2 separate regions of the Homo sapiens genome follow, and region 2 is linked to region 1. Evidence: promoter capture Hi-C in 16 types of primary human blood cells and fetal thymus (Javierre and others, 2016). All regions are on one chromosome and are shown on one strand. The core of a region is centred on a gene start or on the middle of the fragment in contact, and the rest is flanking DNA. Distances in the headings are between cores, read along the strand shown. Region 1 holds the start of USP44 (ubiquitin specific peptidase 44). Region 2 overlaps FGD6 (FYVE, RhoGEF and PH domain containing 6).

The links. The method cuts DNA at HindIII sites, captures the fragments that hold promoters and counts their contacts. A CHiCAGO score of 5 or more calls a contact.
Region 2: a fragment that was not itself captured here is called in contact with the fragment with the promoter of USP44 in region 1 in 9 of 17 cell types (total CD4 T cells, non-activated CD4 T cells, erythroblasts and 6 more); the score reaches 10.1 in total CD4 T cells.

What each region holds. Positions count from the first base shown.
Region 1 is chr12:95,549,866-95,552,921 of GRCh38, reverse strand. USP44 (ubiquitin specific peptidase 44) reads left to right here and starts at 1,446. Exons shown (of 6, transcript NM_032147.5): 1 at 1,446-1,650. The HindIII fragment of the contact is 4,508 bases long and covers 1-1,734 here.
Region 2 is chr12:95,120,060-95,123,115 of GRCh38, reverse strand. The region is part of intron 8 of FGD6 (FYVE, RhoGEF and PH domain containing 6); the gene reads left to right. Among named protein-coding and RNA genes, the nearest start is that of NR2C1, 48 kb to the right of the region's middle. The HindIII fragment of the contact is 9,066 bases long and covers 1-3,056 here.

The sequences.
Region 1 (3,056 bases), core at 197-2,696:
ATCCCAGGTACTCAGGAGGCTGAGGCAGGGGAACTGCTTGAACCCGGGAGGCGGAGGTTGCAGTGAGCCGAGATCACGCCACGGCACTCCAACCTGGGTGACAGAGCGAGACTCTGTCTCAAAAAAAAAAAAAAAAAGAAAAGAAAAGAAAAGAAAAACTGAGTATAGGGTGGAGGTGGAGTGGATGTTTATGTTTAAAAAGGGGGAGAAATGGACTCACTTCACAATTTTGCTTCCATTTATACCTAAACCCTGGGGCTCAGGGTTTCAGTTTCCAGTAGGCCTATGTTGGAAATTCACCTGCAAGGTACAAGTTTCCCTGACAGACCACCAAATAAACAATGGTCTTTTAAAAACAAATCAACTTTGGTACCATCTACTCAGCTGGCATTTACCTTCCTTACCTGCTACCAACCTCATTCTTAGAATTAAAGAAAAAAGGCGAATTCTAAAGCCCCTTCTACTCACTTTCCTCCACTAAGGCCATAGCTTACATCTGCTGCTCTTTTTTCCATACTCCTTTTTTCTCAACTCCTTTCTTTCATATTTGCCAGAAATTTAAGGTCGTTTGGGTTCCTCTCATTTAAAAAGTTCAACTGAAGTGTGTTGCTACACCTTAATCAAAAGTTTATGGCTGAGTTATTTAGCGTTTCTTTACCCACTTCCTCTGCTCAATCCTTCATCTCCTCATAACCATTGAAATGAATGCTATGAATATCTCAATGCTTAGCATGGTGCCAGGCATTTAGGTGTTGAAAAAAATGTTAAGCGAATATTAGTTATTAGGTAAGAGCATTGTCTGTAAAACTCTGAAAAGTCTTAAAAGTGATTCCTAAAATTTCACAAGCTCATAAATTCTTTAGTCTGCAATTATGATTCCTGAAATATTCTTCGATTCATGAAAGACTGGACTAGGAAATTCTAAAAATCGACATAAAGCATAAAAAGCCACTCTGAGGTTTATGAAATTTACAATGTTTTGTCTTCTTTTAATTCATTCGTACTTTTCTCTCAGGATACAAAGGGCAAAACTGTTTGTGTAGTAACTCAGAATTGAGTAGTTACACATCCATTAGGTTTCAGAATCGTTAAAATTTTATCTGGTTTAGGAAACTGCTTACCTTGGAAGGGCAAATTGCCATTTCTCTCCATCTGGGGATCAGGGAAGCAAGGGAAGCCCCCCTAAACATCACTTCCACGCTCCTATATTATGCTAAGGAACTTCTGGTTGATTCATTAGGCATTTCAGCAGTGTTTTTGGCCGGTACTAGGAACTGTGGAGAGGTATAGAAAGGGAGCAAGTGCACAGTCCCGGCCCCCAAAGAGGTTACGATGCAAATAGAAGCAGGCTCAGAACTCGGAACAAAAGCAGTGACTGCATAATAATGCACTGCTGGGGGTGGGGGATGGGGATCTGCACGCCCGGTTTGTGACTTCAGGAAAGCAGTTTCCAGGAGGTGAGAGTTTAAGCCAAACCTGAAAGAGGTTGATTTGTAATGATTTGCAGGGGGGCACTGGAGGCAGCCGCCAGGACTTTTCACTTAGGAGATCAGCATTTGCCCTGATGGAAACTGGGCGATCCTGCAGGGACTGACCTCTGAGTTATCCAAAGGCCGACCTGGGGAAAGACTGATTTTGAGGTTTTAATAGGTAAGTTTGGGGACATCATTGATGAAGGTGGGCAGGGAAGGAGGCTTTTTTCTTTTCTTTTTTTTAATGTTACAGTAAAAAGCTTAGATTCGATGAGACGGGTTAAAAAACAAATAGGAAAATTTAAGGAGAAGAATGACTATGATTGCTATGTAAAAATAAAATTGCAATAGAGAGGTTCTGGAGCTCAGGAAATGAGCTAGAGCATGCTATAATTTAGGCCTAGATAGTGAAGATCATGAATAAAATGGTAGCTGAGGAAATTTCAAAGTTGAATAAGTAGTAATAAGTATGAAGAAAAAGCTAAACTACAAACATCTGCTCTTTAATTACTAACACTAGTAATGAGAATTTGTCTCCAGCCTCTTCCCTTCCCACTCCGCACCTCTTCCTAGCTTACATCATTGTATTAAGGCATTTTATTGAAGACACTATTCAGCACTCTCCACCTATGCCTTACACAGCTTGCCTTTGCTTTTCTTCCCATTTCACTTTTTCTCTTCATTTATTCACATCATTTTAGTCCTTAAAAGACCCCGCCCAATTACTAGATCAGAGGGAGGCAACTAAGACTCTTCCTATCTCCCAAACGACCTTCCAGAATGGTTTTATGGCATTATAATAGGAAAGCAAGAGTTTTGATTTTTCTATTATTAATATTTTGCTTTCAAGGAATTACAGGAAAAACCATATTGCATGCCAGAAATACTTAAATTTTAAATATTTCATCTTAAGAGATGCCCTCATGTAATGCTTTTAATGCATTTGAGAAATTCAGGTGGTGGGCAAAAGTACAACATAGAGGTTAGATGTTTTGAGTGGGAGAAGTGCACTGGGGTCATTATTGAATCAGAATTATTATGCACTTAAATATATAGAAAAAAGAACAAAATGAGTATTAAACTATGCAAATTCATCCCTTTAATCTTTATTTGCATGACTACATTTTATGCAGTTGTAACCTTAATGTACATATTTGGTATTTTTTTCAAACATGAATTGATTAGACATTGTTGCTATTTTGTATCTATTTTGTTAACATAAGAACTTCCTGTGTTATATCAGATTTTTTTTTTTTTTTTTTTTTTCTGAGACGGAGTTTCGCTCTTGTTGCTGCCCAGGCTTGAGTGCAATTGTGGATCTAGGCTCACCACAACCTCCGCCTCCTGGGTTCAAGCGATTGTCCTGTCTCAGCCTACCGAGTAGCTGGGATTACAGGTGCCCGCCACCAGGCCCGGATAATTTTTGTATTTTTAGTAGAGACAGGGTTTCACTATGTTGGCCAGGCTGCTCTCGAACTCCTGACCTCAGGTGATCCACCCGCCTTGGCCTCCCAAAGTGCTGTGATTACAGGCGTGAGCCACTGCGCCCGGCCTCTATGTCAGACCTTAATTAGCCATTTCCTG
Region 2 (3,056 bases), core at 255-2,754, 430 kb after region 1:
GGACCTTTTCTAATTCACAGAAAGGCAACCTGAGAGCCCAGAAAGATCGCTTTTTTTTTTTTTGACAGAGTCTCACTCTGTCGCTCAGGCTGTGCAACCTCCACTTCCCAGGTTCAAGTGATTCTCCTACCTTAGCCTCCCAAGAAGCTGGGACTGGAGGCATGCACCACCATGCCCAGCTAATTTTTGTATTTTTATTAGGGACGAGGTTTCACCATGTTGGCCAGGCTGGTCTCGAATTCCTGACCTCATGTGATCTGCCCACCTTGGCCTCCCAAAGTGCTGGGATTACAGGCATGAGCCACTGTGCCCCTCCCGAGATGACACTTTCTAACTTAGGCAAGCACCACATCTATAAGAGGTGGTTCTAGGCCACATACAGATTCAAGGACTAGAATTGAATGAGTATTTGAGAAGCAGAAGAATTAGAGCCAAAGGCCAGAGCCTTTTTTTTTTTTTTTTTTTTTTTTGAGACTGAGTCTCGCTCTGTTGCCCAGGCTAGAGTGCAATGGTGCAATCTCAGCTCACTGCAACCTCTGCCTCCTGGATTCAAGCAGTTCTCGCACCTGAGCCTCCCGAGTAGCTGGAATTACAGACATGAGCCACCACGCCCGGCTAATTTTTGTATTTTTAGTAGAGACGGGGTTTCACCATGTTGGCTAGGCTGGTCTCAAACTCCTGTCCTCAGGTGATCCAACTGCCTCAGCCTCCCAAAGTGCTGGGATGACAGGTGCAAGCCACTGTGCCTGGCATAGCAGATCTTCTTCTAGGTGCAGGGGCTACAACAATAATTAAAATCAGGCTTTCTGTCCTCAGGAAGGCCACAGTTTTAGCATTTGTGCATAAAATGATACCTTATATTATAGTACCATTTACTTAGCTTCTAATATATTCATGACATTACATATTCTCATTAAACTTAACTTAGAATTTTGGAGTTTTATTGTTACTTGTCAAAATGATTTTGTGTATAGAAATAAATAGGATATGTACATTGTTAAATAATATTCTGGGAGGCAAATGCCAGTGCATACATATTCTAAGGCATCAACAATTAAAGTTACACAATAGCATTGCAAGAATAGATCTATTAATTTTTTTATAAAAGGAATTATTCCTTATGTAATAAGGAAGTAACTTGAAATGGACTGTTTATAAGAATCTAATGTATGACAAAGTAGGAAACCCAAGACAATAGAAAAAAGATTGTTTATTAAATAACCTATTAATAATTTGAAAAATAACCAGCCTGGCCGACATGGTACAACCTCATTTCTACTAAAAGTACAAAAATTAGCTGGGCGTTGTGACACACATCTGTCGTCCCAGCTACTGGGGAGGCTGAGGCAGGAGAATCCCTTGAACCCAGGAGGCGGAGATTGCAGTGAGCCAAGATCATGCCACTGCATTCCAGCCTGGGCAACAGGAGAGACTCCATCTCAAAAATAATAATAATTTGAAAAACAAATTAAGGTTCCTACATTAATACATATACTACAAATAAAATCAGAGCTAAATATGAAGAATTATAAAACTGGCTATTTATTGAAACTCTAAAATGAGGACAGGATGAAAGATAGTTTTGTAGGCCCAGAAAAATTAATTATAAAGGAATATATATATATATATATATACATATATATATATATATCTTTTTTTTTTTTTGAGACGGAATTTTACTCTTATTACCCAGGCTGGAGTGCAATGATGTGAACTCAGCTCACTGCAACCTCCACCTCCTGGGTTCAAGGGGTTCAAGTGATTCTCCGGCCTCAGCCTCCCTAGTAGCTGGGATTACAGGTGCCTGCCGCCATGCCCGGCTAATTTTTTGTATTTTCAGTAGAGACAGGGTTTCACCATGTTGGCCAGTCTGGTCTCAAACAACTGACCTCAAGTGATCTGCCCGCTTCGGCCTCCCAAAGTGCTGGGATTACAGGGGTGAGCCACAGCAGCCAGCCTGTAAATGAAAATATTGACACTTTTCATTTCATTTTATTTATTTTATTTTTTGAGGCACATTTGCACCATTATAATAACATTAAAATATTATAAAAGTTTAAAATACAGTCAAAGTAAAAAGGCAAACAGCACATCAGAAAATATACCTCTAGGAAATTTTCATTTCAGCACAAATACTAAAAATAGACATCTAGACTAAAAATATGAACAAATATAATAACTTAGAAAAAAAGAGCACATAATAAATATATAGTGGTGTATTGTGTCCTTCGAATGATAACTATCAAATAAAACAGTTACCAATTCTATTAGCAATAAAAAACTGCAGCACACAAAATTGGCATTTACTGAAACTGTTATTCTCATATATTTGTATTAAAAGTTTCACATCCCTTTAGGAAAGGTTTTTTGTGATATGTATCAAGCACCCAAAAATAATTTAATATTTTATTTTATTTCATTTTATTTTTGAGGTGGAGTTTCACTCTGTCACCCAGGCTAGAGTGCAGTGGTGCGATCTCGGCTCACTGCAACCTCTGCCTCCGGAGTTTAAGCAATTCTCCTTGCCTCAGCCTCCCGAGTAGCTGGGACTATAGGCGCACACCACCATGCCCTACTAATTTTGTATTTTTAGTAGAGACAGGGTTTCGCTATGTTGGCCAGGCTGGTCTTGAACTCCTGACCTCAGGTGATCCACCTCCTTCACCCTCCCAAAGTGCTGGGATTACAGACATGAACCACCATGCCCAGCCTAAAATTTTTTTTAACTTTAATTTTTTTCTATATCACAAATCATGAAGCAAAAAAAATAAAAAATAAATAAATAAATAAATAAATTATTCTCCCTGATCCCAAGAAAAGAATCTGAAATATGGAAGAAGGCATGCTTTATTTATTTATTTATTTATTTATTTTTATTTATTTATTTTTGAGACGGACTCACTCTGTCACCCAGGCTGGAGTGCAGTGACGTGATGTCAGCTCACTTCAACCTCCGCCTCTTGGGTTCAAGCAGTTCTTCTGTCTCAGCCTCCTGGGTAGCTGGGACTACAGGAGCATTCCACCACACCCGGCTAACTTTTGTATTTTTGGTAGAG